Linked DNA regions of Homo sapiens: all the other regions are linked to region 3. The links are contacts of gene promoters, found by promoter capture Hi-C in blood cells and fetal thymus (Javierre and others, 2016). All regions are on one chromosome and are shown on one strand. The core of a region is centred on a gene start or on the middle of the fragment in contact, and the rest is flanking DNA. Distances in the headings are between cores, read along the strand shown.

Region 1 (2,700 bases), core at 77-2,576, 270 kb before region 3:
TTGTTCTTAATTCTGTTTTCATTTGTTCTCTAGCCAAGACCCCAAGTCTATAATGATCAAGAGGGTTGTTTTATTTTTGACAAGTGGAAACCCACATGTTTCTGAAAAGTGGAGTGGTGGTGGTGGTGGTGGTGGTAGCATAATCTGGAAGACCCCTAAAGAAGGCAGTGCTACCTGCCATATTTGACTTGGGGGTCAGAGCGAGAGTCTGAGTTGGAGAGTTGGGAAGCTAGAAAAATGAAGGACTAAAGTAAGAGATATTCCTTATTTCTCCTTTTCCTTTTCCACATATCTTGAGAAAGAGAAAGGTTTTTAGTTCAGCAGAAAATGGGAGATGCTGGGGCAGAGATAAAAATGCTCCCCAAACATGGCAGGGACTTCCTTGTATTTCTCGTTCTCCTTGTAGTTAGGTTGAGCTAAAGGAGATGCTACTAATGAAATTTGAAATCTTAGGGTCAGACATGTGGGAATGCACTGCCTACCCTTCCATCTTGGCAGTGACACGGGCTCATTCCCCCCAGTTTCCAGAGCTGTGTCCTTTTCATTCCTCTTTCCAAATCCACCTCCACTCAAGCTTTCAATCTGTGCCTGGGCTCTGGTTTGAATGAGCCACTGATATATTTGCAGCCACCGGGGATCTGGAGTGCAGATGCAAATGGCAGTGTTCCCTGGTAAGTGTTGGTGACAATTGGATCTTTCTCTGATTTGCATTCCCAAGGCCTGCAGGTTTTCAGAAAATCACATCTTATAGGCAGTTCTGGGGAGGGGGGAGGTTTATTTTCAATGTCAGCTACAAATGCCGGCCCATGATAATTCTTAGAATGAAAGACCTCTCATTTGCAAAGGAGAGGATAGTTAGAGCCAGAACAATTCACTTAGCAAAAATTTGGGCCCAAAAATATATATATAGGAGAAGGGATTGTTGGTGGGTAGAGAGGCCTGGAGATCAAGAGCAAGAGATGAGATAAACACAAGTTTGGAAGCCATTGGCTTGTGAGGGGACCTGAGCACTTAGAATAGAGGAGACCCCTCAGGGAGAGCTTGTATGGAGAGAGAGAAAGGTGCATCCTGACCCCATCCTGGGCATTTCTCTTTGAAACTCAGCCTTGTTATAATTCATTTCTAATTCTGATATCAGCAGTGAGGGTTCATCTAATCTATTCTCATCACTTCTTGAGCCTCTCAGCTCTCACTGGTCCTGGCTCTTGCCTGGAGATGATTTTACTCAAAATTCTAGTCCAGGATTTAGAATTGGTCTAAGTACAGATGTGCATCAGGAGGCTATTTCAAAATCCCAGATGAGCTCATACATAAAGTAAGGATTAATTTTTTATTTTGTGAACCAATTGTGTAAAAAAAAAAAAAAACAACAATGCACATTAGGAAAGTAATTCATTTAATTTCCATGACCCAGCCCCTCCTGCCTACAAGCCCCCCTCCCCCATCCCATGCAATCCACCTCATAGGTAAAAACATATTCTGGGCAAACTGACTCATTTCATGTCACATTTATCCCACTCAAGTTTGTCCCTCCTGCTTTGAGCCTGGATTCCACGTAAAGGTGGAAGGTGATTTGGGCTGGTCTCCAGGCAGTCACCACCTGCAACCTATTTTCTTCTCATCACGACACCTACGTTCAGTGTCACCTTTTCTTCTCCCTTGGGCTGCCCCTTTCTTGCTCACTCCCATGTTCCAATGCCAGCAGCTCTGTCTTTGTGCTCAGCCATGCTTGTTGTTCAGCAGCATTCCTCATTAGAATCCCATTATTTGATGGTCAGAGTAGGGTCTCCATGGTGATACAGGCACAAGTGTAGCCAGTATTCTGCCACCGCATCTTACCTACTTGGCAGGCAAGCTAGAGTTGGCCTAAATTCTGCTTTTATCATTTATGTGTTTGTTCTTATGCTTTTAGGAAAAAAAAATCCTGAAATAATGGTGAAGGACAGCAAGTATTTGCCTAGAGTGCATGCTAAGAAGTCTCCATAGATGTTTTTCTTTAAGTATCCTGACCGCTTAACATATTGATGAAGACCTCTTATTTCCAGGTCAACAATCAGCTGTTACCAACTTAAGCTTTCTAAACATTTTCTGTGAAACAAATTTTTGCCAGTAAGAAAAGGAAATTGGGAGCTGCCACTGCTTAATTAATTTGAAGCTTTGATAAGCTTTGCCAGAGAGTCGCATAATAGAATTAGCAAGTTTCTTAACAGGTGAGAAAGCACATGAGCATAAACAAAAATAGGATAAGACTATCATCAATGGGGTTTATGCACCAGCTTAAAAAGCCAGTTTGGGGGACTTTTATGACTCTGAATTAAGATTTGTGCAATATAAGATTGTCCAGGATAAAATATTTTGGGCACCAAATATTAAGCTTCTGAAATAGACCCAGAGGTTCTTGTATGATAAAAAAAAAGTATGTATAAGGTTTTGATTTGATTTTTTAAATAATGTGTTCACTACTTCCCTTTCTTCTGAGACTCCATAGAGAAAAAAATATCATAACACTAAAGAGAAGGGAATGAGGATGGCCAAGAGCAGACTGGAGATTTCATCCTATTTCTTGGTTGTGGACAATCAGAAAAAGCATATTGTAGATGAAGTGGAGTAAAGGATGCTCAGAATATGCATGTCATGGGCCTCTGGGAATGTGGTGGCTGATCAGGCTGCTAGAAGCCTGGAGGGCCTTGGCTATCGGAT
Region 2 (2,700 bases), core at 75-2,574, 330 kb before region 3:
TCCCGCAGCCCCTCCATCCTATCAATCCCTCAATCTCCGACTTCTGTGTTTTTCACTGGATACCCTGTCTACATCCCACTCTCTTCACCTTTTTCAAGCATCACAGACAAGAAATCCTTGGGGAAGTGGATGGGAATCTGGAGATGGTGTCTCAGGAGCTTTAAGTCATTTGCCATGTATAGTCCTTTGCGGGGAAGCAGACCTGGAGGCTTGTTTCCTGCCAGGAGAAGGTTGGGCACGCTAAGTGAGAAAAGACCTAAGGGTCCCAGGTTTGGGGACCTCGACGTGGGTTTTGGGCAGAGGGCAGCTTCCTTTTTTTTCTCTTGTTGTTTCGCTCTTGTTGCCCAGGCTGGAGTGCAATGGTGCGATCTCAGCTCACCGCAACCTCCGCCTCCTGGGTTCAAGCGATTCTCCCGCCTCAGCCTCCCGAGTAGCTGTGGTATACAGGCATGCACTACCACGCCCGGCTAATTTTGTATTTTTAGTAGAGACGGGGCAGAGGGCAGCTTTCTGGCTGCCAGTGCCAATATAAGGACCCGCTGGGGTCGGCTCTCTTGGGCCACTGAGATCACCCCTGCCCCGACCCTCCCTTCCTACCACTGTCTTTCATGATCCCTGTTATGAGGCTGGGCCGCAACTGCAGGTTGATGTTCCAGATATTCTGATACCGGCACAGGATCTGCGGGCAGAGGTCAAGAACGATTGCCAGTGTGCAAGATGGAAAAGTGAAAGAGCCGAGGGAAAGGGAAGGGAGGCGCTAAGTGCAGAGCAGGGGTTATGCGGACACCCTACATTGTTTGGTTTGAAATTGGCAAAACTCTCCTCACTACTAGAAATCTATTCCAGGATCTTCGCTCCTGTGGCCAGTTTTCCCCAAAACTGCCATCGTTGGGCTAAGAGGTGGCCGTGTTCTGCATTTCTCCCTGAATGTTTGGAGCCGCCCCTCTTTCCACCACCGTGGGAAACTGCAGTCGGGATATAAAGGCTCGGGTTGGAGCCAGCGACTCTATTCCGTTTAAAAGCACAAAGTGACCTTCAGCCCCGGAGCTCTCCCTGCTTGCCTTAACCCCTTGGGCGGCGCCAGGAGTTACACGAGACCTCTGTCCCGGAGCCCTGCGCTCACTCTTCCCTCCGCCCTCACTCCCCAGACACTGCCGAGGCGACCCCTCCCAGCGTCACCTCGAAGCCCAGCCAGGAGTAGGGGGACAGCACGTCATAGAAGAGCTCCACGGTGCGCGGCAGGGGCCCCATGCTGCAGGCTCCGGAAGAGCAGTGGCAGCAGGAGCTCCTTTTCCCGGAACCCGGCAGAGGCTGCCCAGCTTCTGGGCCTGCCTGGGACCGCCCACCGCCTTAGCGCGCAGCCTCAGAGAGAAACTGCCCTGGTAGAGGTCCACCTCCGGCGCAGCGGGGCAGGGCCAGCCTACGGCCCCCAGCCAGGGGCGGGGTGGGTAGGGACCCCTTGGGGAGCGCGCAGGTGTGGACAAGGGGCGCTGCAATCGCCTTTGCAAAAATTTTAACAGTGAGAAAATTACGAAGGTGAAACAGATCTGAACTCACCAACTCCATCGTGCCTTTAACCTCCAAACTGCCCTTGGTCATTCCTGAGCATGGGACGAGCTAATATAGGGAGAAATTTAGTTTATAGTTTAAATGATAATAGCCCTTCCCCAAACTAAACCAGTTTTATAAAACTAATAAAAGTCCACAAGTTTAGGATTATGAGAGGGGCCTGAATTCTGCTAAGATGTAGGCATTAACAATTACCAGACATTGTTCCAGAGGTCACAAGCTCTGCAACTTCCCCAATTATTCCTGTAAATAACCACTTTTGTAGAACCTAAGACTGGCCTTTGAAGATACCTTCTCAGACTTTTCCATTTCTAATGACAGGATGACTCCACCTGGACCAGTGACTCCTCTGTGGCCCGCATCCAAATGCAACTCGGTGCACTGAGGACGGTTTTCCACACCCCTGTGATTGCATCCCCAACCAATTAGCAGCACCCATTCTCTAGCCCCTTGCCCATCAAACTATCATTAAAAAACTCTAGCCGGCGGGCATGGTGGCTCACGCCTGTAATCCCAGCACTTTGGGAGGCTGAGGTGGGTGGATCACTTGAGGTCAGGAGTTCAAGACCACTCTGGCCCACATGGTGAAACCCTGTCTCTACTAAAAATGCAAAAATTAGCCGGGCATGGTGGCATGTGCCTGTAATCCCAGTTACTCGGGGGGCTGAGTCAGGAGAATTGCTTGAATCCGGGAGGCAGAGGTTGCAGTGAGCCGAGATCATGCCACTGCACTCCAGCCTGGGTGACATAGCAAGACTCCCTCTCAAAAGAAAAACAAAAACAAAAACAAAAAAACCCACAAAGTCCCCTAGCCTCTGCCTCCGAATTTTGGGAGGCTAATTTGAGTAATAATAAAACTCTGGTCTCCTGTTTAGCTGGCTCTATGTGTATTAAACTCTTTCTCTATTGCAATTCCCTTGTCTTGATAAATTAGCCCCATCTGGGTAATGGGCAAGATGAACCCATTGGGCTGGTGTCAGGGTGACTGTCCTGCTCTGCAGTGGAGTCTTGTGGGAAGGGGGTAGTTTGAGATGCCTGCAGTGCCTTTCACTTAGCTGTGCCCCTTGGGTGAGCCACTTGACCTCTCTGAACCTATTTCCTCATCCTGCATACACATGGGGAATATCTAAT
Region 3 (2,700 bases), core at 176-2,675:
GCACCAAACCCTGTATATACTATCTTTTTTCCTACACGTACATACATACATACATACATACATACATACATACATACATACATACATATGATGAAGTTTAATTTATACATTAGGCACAGTGAAGAGTTTAGGCCGGGCATAGTGACTCACGCCTGTAATCCCAGCACTTCAGGAGGCCGAGGCAAGCAGATCACCTGAGGTCAGGAGTTCGAGACTAGCCTGGCCAACATGGTAAAACCCTGTCTCTACTAAAAATACAAAAATTAGCCAGGCGTGGTGGTGGGCACCTGTAATCCCAGCTACTAGGGAGGCTGCGGCAGGAGAATAACTTGAACCTGGAAGGTGGATGTTGCAGTGAGCCAAGATCACACCATTGCTCTCCAGCCTGGGCAACGAAAGTGAAACTCTGTCTCAAAAAAAAAAAAAAAAGAGTTTAACAACAATAAAATGAAAATTATAATAATATAAAGTTATGTGAATGTTCTCTTTCTCTCTGTCTCTCAAAATATGTTATAGTACTGTACTCACCTATTTTCCAACTGTGGCTGACCTTAGGTAACTGAACCATCAGAGAGTGAAACTGTGGATAAGGGAAACTACTTAATATATAAAATATAATATAAAATATATAAAATAGTGCAACATTACTTATTCCTCCTGGTGTTTCATTCCTGGAAAGAGTCCCAAACATGGAATCACGATTTATTTGTCGTCTACCTTTGCTCAGTTTCTGCTGTTCAACCTCCATAATAACTCGAGGCCCCTGGGGGCTCCTCTGACCTGCGTCCCCAGGTACCAGAGCCTGCTCGGCGACGCTCCAGGAAGCTGGCCGGTCACGGTCATGAGGACTTCTCACAGAGAGGGATTGGCCTGGGAAGTGGGGGTCAGAAACCCTCCTTTGAGGTACAGGGTTGAGGACAGAGATGACCACAAGACACATAAATGGGAAGCTCTGAGAAGCAGCCCGGGGGTCTCTTGAGCCCTCTTGTGGAAGGAGGATCGGCAGTGATTGAGTACTTGTGACACATGCTTTACAGATGCTCCCGTGAGACGGCATAGCCGTTACCCCAATTTCACAGGTTAGGAACTGAGGCTCAGAAAGCTCACCTAACTGTAAGGGATAAGAGTCAGGATTTGAACCAGGCTCTGCCTGACTCTTGAGCTGGAAGTCTTTATTTCCTCCTCTCCCTCATGCAACTAACTGTGCACCTTGTTTGTGGACCCACCTTCCATCCCTTTTCTTTTTCCAAATTCCTCTGCCCCACCTCTTAGCTTCTCGGGTCTCAGCCATCCCAGCCCACAGTTAGGAACCTTCCTTCCCCTCCTCCTTTTCTTCCCCAGGGTGGTTCTGTGGCTGTGGGGCTCAGCTCTGCAAAGAGCTCCTCCCCCTCCAGGAAAAGCACTTCTCCCCAGGCAGGGCGGTCAGTCCCCTCAGCGCACCTGCATGCACACACACCACCTCACAACCACACACTGCATGCACACACATACACCACAGCCACACACTGTGCATACACGCACACCCCACAACCCACATACTGCATGCACACACACACACCTACAAGCTGCATGCTGCATACACAAGTCATACAGGAGATAAACTCAGAGTCCCAGCCCCAAATAGACCCCATCTCTTGCTCAGTTGCTGTCATCCTAGACCTGTTTCTTTCGCCACATTTCTATAATCTGCCAGTGTCTGCAAGGAGAAGACATGGGGGGTTTTCTACCTAAGGCAGAAGGGCCCGGGAGCCAACTCCAGAAACTTCTGCCCTCCTTTCTGGTCAGAGAACAAGACTGGGACCAGCACCTGGACAAGCTTCATATGCTGCAGCAGAAGAGGTAGGCTTCCTAGAACGATCCGTGGCCCTACCGCCGTGATCCTCAGACCCTCTGACCCACCTGGGCCTGCTTTCCGAATACAGCACCCTAGAAGTGTATTGTCAGTGCCAGTCACTCAGACATACCCTTTCCTTCCAGCCCACCTAATTACAGAATCCCAGCTGGCCCCTTTTAGTGGCGGTGGAGGATGTGGCTTTGGGCCACACAGGAAAATCTTGAGGGTAGACCTAAGGACAGAGGCAGAATGACAGCCAAGGGGGAGTGAAAGGACCAAAAAGGACCAGAGGGAAGAAGCCAGGTTGTGTGGGATGGGGAGGGAAGGCAGAAGCAGGCTGCTGAAGAAGGGATGCACTCCTGTGGGTGGTGGAAGCACGATAAGGAAACGCCATTCATTTGAATGAAAGTGGACTGTGTGGGAAAGGGGAGGAGCGCTTTGTTTGGTGTAACACTGGGTGCTGACCAGTGGAGGAGGGCAGCTCAGGTGACACTGGAGGGCTCTGAGTTCAGTCCATCTGCCTTTTATTGAGTCTACTGTGTGCAGAGGGGTGTTAGATCCCAATGACATAAAGATTGAATGAGACTTGTGCCTGCTCCTGGAGAGCTCTTAGTTCGGGCAGGGCTAGCACACCTGCAGGTAAATCATTTCATGGCTTAGCCCTGAGGTCCAGTCCCAGGAAGAGCAGCTGGGGCAGGGACGAATCCTGTGGGCTGCTTCTTCCTCCAAGTGTTTTGGGGCTTGCCTCCCACCCAACAGCTGCCTGAGGGGTGAGGTTGTTGAGCAGACATTAGCAGTCACAAAGGGCTCCCCTGTACTCCAGAAGATTCCTGTGCTTTGTTCAATGCCCTGCTGTCCTCATCTTC
Region 4 (2,700 bases), core at 77-2,576, 370 kb before region 3:
GGAACGCACAGGCCGCTTCTGGACACTGCAGCAAGGTGCGTCTCTAGTCATGTTTGCTTCTTCAGAGCCAAAAGATAATGTCTACATTAAATTTGGACACCTTCCAAACTCTCACTCTAGGACAAAAAGGGCGGAGGATATGAATGAAATAAAAGATAGGAGATGGTCTCTCAGACATCTTAACTAATGTAATAAAAGCAATCACTAAAGTGCCATCTACAAAAGCTGGAACTGAACACAAATATGGGGAATTTATATGCCCTCTCCCCATAACCACACTGTGTTTACAACTTCACTTGTCAGGCTCTTCAACTGCAGCTGAAACATTCCTGGCAATAGGTCCAACCAAGGCTGGCTCTACAGGCAAAGGGCTTCACAGAAAAGGAGCTGGCCTGGAGTCCCACACTCAAAGGCAGAGATGATGGGCACAGGAAACAAGTCTGGGAGATTCCCACATCCCTGAGGGGGCAGAACAGAAACCGTGCATCCTGAAGATCAAAGGCTCTATCACACCTCCTGTGGTCCAGTGGCTTCCACTTGGCGTGGATGATGGGGAGGTGACATCATGTGGGAGGGTGTCCTGGGAACAGGTAGAGGTGGCGGCACAGAGTGCTGCAGTATTCAGACATCTCCTTGCACCGGTGGAATTCTGTGCCAGGAGCATAACCTTCCCGATCCTTGATAAGTGCGTTCACCTGGAGGGGCAGAACCAATAGGCCCAAGTCTGAGAATCTCGGGCTTCAGGAGAGCAGCAAACGGGAAGGGGAGACGGACTATGAAAGAGCATTCAAGAGAGGAGGAAAGTAGAGCACTGTGGAGACACACAGGGGTCACGGAGCCCGCTGGCTCACCTTAACCAGCATGTCGGCCACGTGCATATCACAAGCCCGCTCAGAAAACACTTGAGCAAGAGCCTCGATGTACCAGGAACCTCGTTTGGTGTTCCGCATGGCGGCAGTCCCTGCAACCAAAAGGGCATTAATCACAGTGTGAATGCCATCACACAGCTGCACTTCCCAAACTAGACTCGGCCATGACACCTGCACCCTCCCTAGTCAGAGAACCCAGCATGAAGAATCTAAGTCTAGGAGGGTACTCTTTTGGATTATTGGCATACTTTGGAGATACCGTAGGTCTGTTTCCAGACCAGCTTAAGAAAGTGAATATGGCAATAAAGCAAGTCATACAAATTTTCAGGTCTCCCAGTGTATACGGAAGTTATGGTTACTATCCTACAGTCTATTAAGTGTGCAACAACATTATGTCTAAAACATGCATATGCTGTAATTAAAACATACTTTATTGCTGAAAAATGCTAACAGAGGCATGCCAATAGAAAAATGGTGCTGACAGATGCTCAAAGGATTGCCACAAACCTTCAATTTGTAAAAAGCAGCTGAGCATCCCAAATCCAAAAAATCTGAAATGCTTCAAAATCTGAAACTTTCCAAGTGCCAATATGATGCTCAAAGAAGGTGCTCATGGGAGTGTTTTAAATTTAGAATATTTGGATACGGGATACTCAACTAGTAAGTATAACGCAAATATTCCAAAATCCAAAAAAACAAAAAAATCCAAAATCTGAAACACTTCTGGTTCCAACACTTCAGATAAGGGATACTCAACCTGTACCTGCAAAGCACAATAAAGCAAAGTGCAACAAAATGAGGTATGACTCAACTCTTTTGGAACTCAAAGTACCTTTGAGGCAGGCATAGCCGCATATCATGTCTGAGCGCGTGGGCAGTCTCATCTTCGGCAACTTTTCTTTACCGGCATCACTCTCCTCGCACCCAGGGGATCCTGCGTGGTTCTTTCCATCTTGTTGGTCAACCCCACGATCAGTCTCATCTGTAACAAAGGCAGACAGAATGGACAATGATGTTACTTCTTCCTATCTCTCTTGGGCCTGTCACAGGCAAGCCCACGTTCCCTACAACCTTGAAGGGGAAGAGCCATTTCCAGCTGTTGCCTCCAACCTATGGCTGATAAACTAAAAAAAAAAAAAAAAAATTATTACTCTCTCAGCATGCATCTGTTACTCAGGGGATGCCTCATACACACCGGGCACCACGCTCAAGCACATGCACATCTATGCGGTTGGAGCAGTTCCCATTCTGTGTAAGACAGGGAAAATGCCAAATCAAATACTCCTTGTAAATGGAACTGAAAATCATCTAAGTCCACAACTCACTTGTTCAATTAACAATATGCCTGGGAGTCACAGTGCTTTTTATTGCAATACATAATAAAATATTGATATATTTAATTACATAAACAAGAAAAAACAAGGTAATAAATAACAAATACGGTTACCATATGTATGCTATATAAAAATCACAACCTCGAACTATGTATCAAAAAATAATAAAACTAAGTATGATCAGTTGTTTCCAAGGTGGTTTTGATATCTTCGAAGCACTATGTTTATTAATTTCATAAGATAAATTATAGCAAGCATCCAAGATTTAAGAAAAAAAATTTTTAATTTATTTTTTAAAATAACTTTTTAAATCTTTTTTTTTCTTTTTTTAATAGAGATGGGGTCTTGCTACGTTGACCAGGCTTGTCTTGAACTCCTGGCTTCAAGTGATCCTTCTGCCTCGGCCTCCCAAAGTGTTGGGATTATAGGCATGAGTCACTGCACCTGGCCTTATGAAAATTTTAAGAGGAAAAACTTAAAGTGGGGAGAACTTGACT

The links. Contacts are between HindIII fragments. The CHiCAGO score rates a contact against its expected background, and 5 or more counts as called.
Region 1: a fragment that was not itself captured here is called in contact with the fragment with the promoter of TRPV5 in region 3 in 8 of 17 cell types (neutrophils, M0 macrophages, naive B cells and 5 more); the score reaches 8.8 in neutrophils.
Region 2: a contact is called between the fragment with the promoter of GSTK1 here and the fragment with the promoter of TRPV5 in region 3, in 4 of 17 cell types (neutrophils, erythroblasts, monocytes and 1 more). The highest score is 9.1, in neutrophils.
Region 4: a contact is called between a fragment that was not itself captured here and the fragment with the promoter of TRPV5 in region 3, in 1 of 17 cell types (neutrophils). The highest score is 7.4, in neutrophils.

The regions. Positions count from the first base shown.
Region 1 is chr7:143,202,686-143,205,385 of GRCh38, reverse strand. It overlaps LOC124901764 (a long non-coding RNA gene), which reads left to right. Exons shown (of 2, transcript XR_007060567.1): 1 at 1-2,210. Among named protein-coding and RNA genes, the nearest start is that of TAS2R40, 18 kb to the left of the region's middle. The HindIII fragment of the contact is 1,499 bases long and covers 577-2,075 here.
Region 2 is chr7:143,262,065-143,264,764 of GRCh38, reverse strand. GSTK1 (glutathione S-transferase kappa 1) reads right to left here and starts at 1,324. Exons shown (of 8, transcript NM_015917.3): 1 at 1,180-1,324; 2 at 598-679; 3 at 89-217. The coding sequence starts at 1,251. All of the region lies in intron 2 of TMEM139-AS1 (TMEM139 antisense RNA 1), which reads left to right. It overlaps LOC105375546 (a long non-coding RNA gene), which reads right to left. Exons shown (of 3, transcript XR_007060569.1): 3 at 1,558-1,617. RefSeq lists enhancers at 1,077-1,296, 1,115-1,409 and a silencer at 1,437-1,506. The HindIII fragment of the contact is 19,965 bases long and covers 1-2,700 here.
Region 3 is chr7:142,932,471-142,935,170 of GRCh38, reverse strand. It overlaps TRPV5 (transient receptor potential cation channel subfamily V member 5), which reads left to right and starts at 1,425. Exons shown (of 15, transcript NM_019841.7): 1 at 1,425-1,839. The coding sequence starts at 1,712. The HindIII fragment of the contact is 14,618 bases long and covers 1-1,818 here.
Region 4 is chr7:143,302,935-143,305,634 of GRCh38, reverse strand. CASP2 (caspase 2) reads right to left here. Exons shown (of 11, transcript NM_032982.4): 9 at 1,702-1,851; 10 at 852-961; 11 at 1-695. The coding sequence ends at 564. Among named protein-coding and RNA genes, the nearest start is that of CLCN1, 12 kb to the left of the region's middle. The HindIII fragment of the contact is 3,319 bases long and covers 1-2,700 here.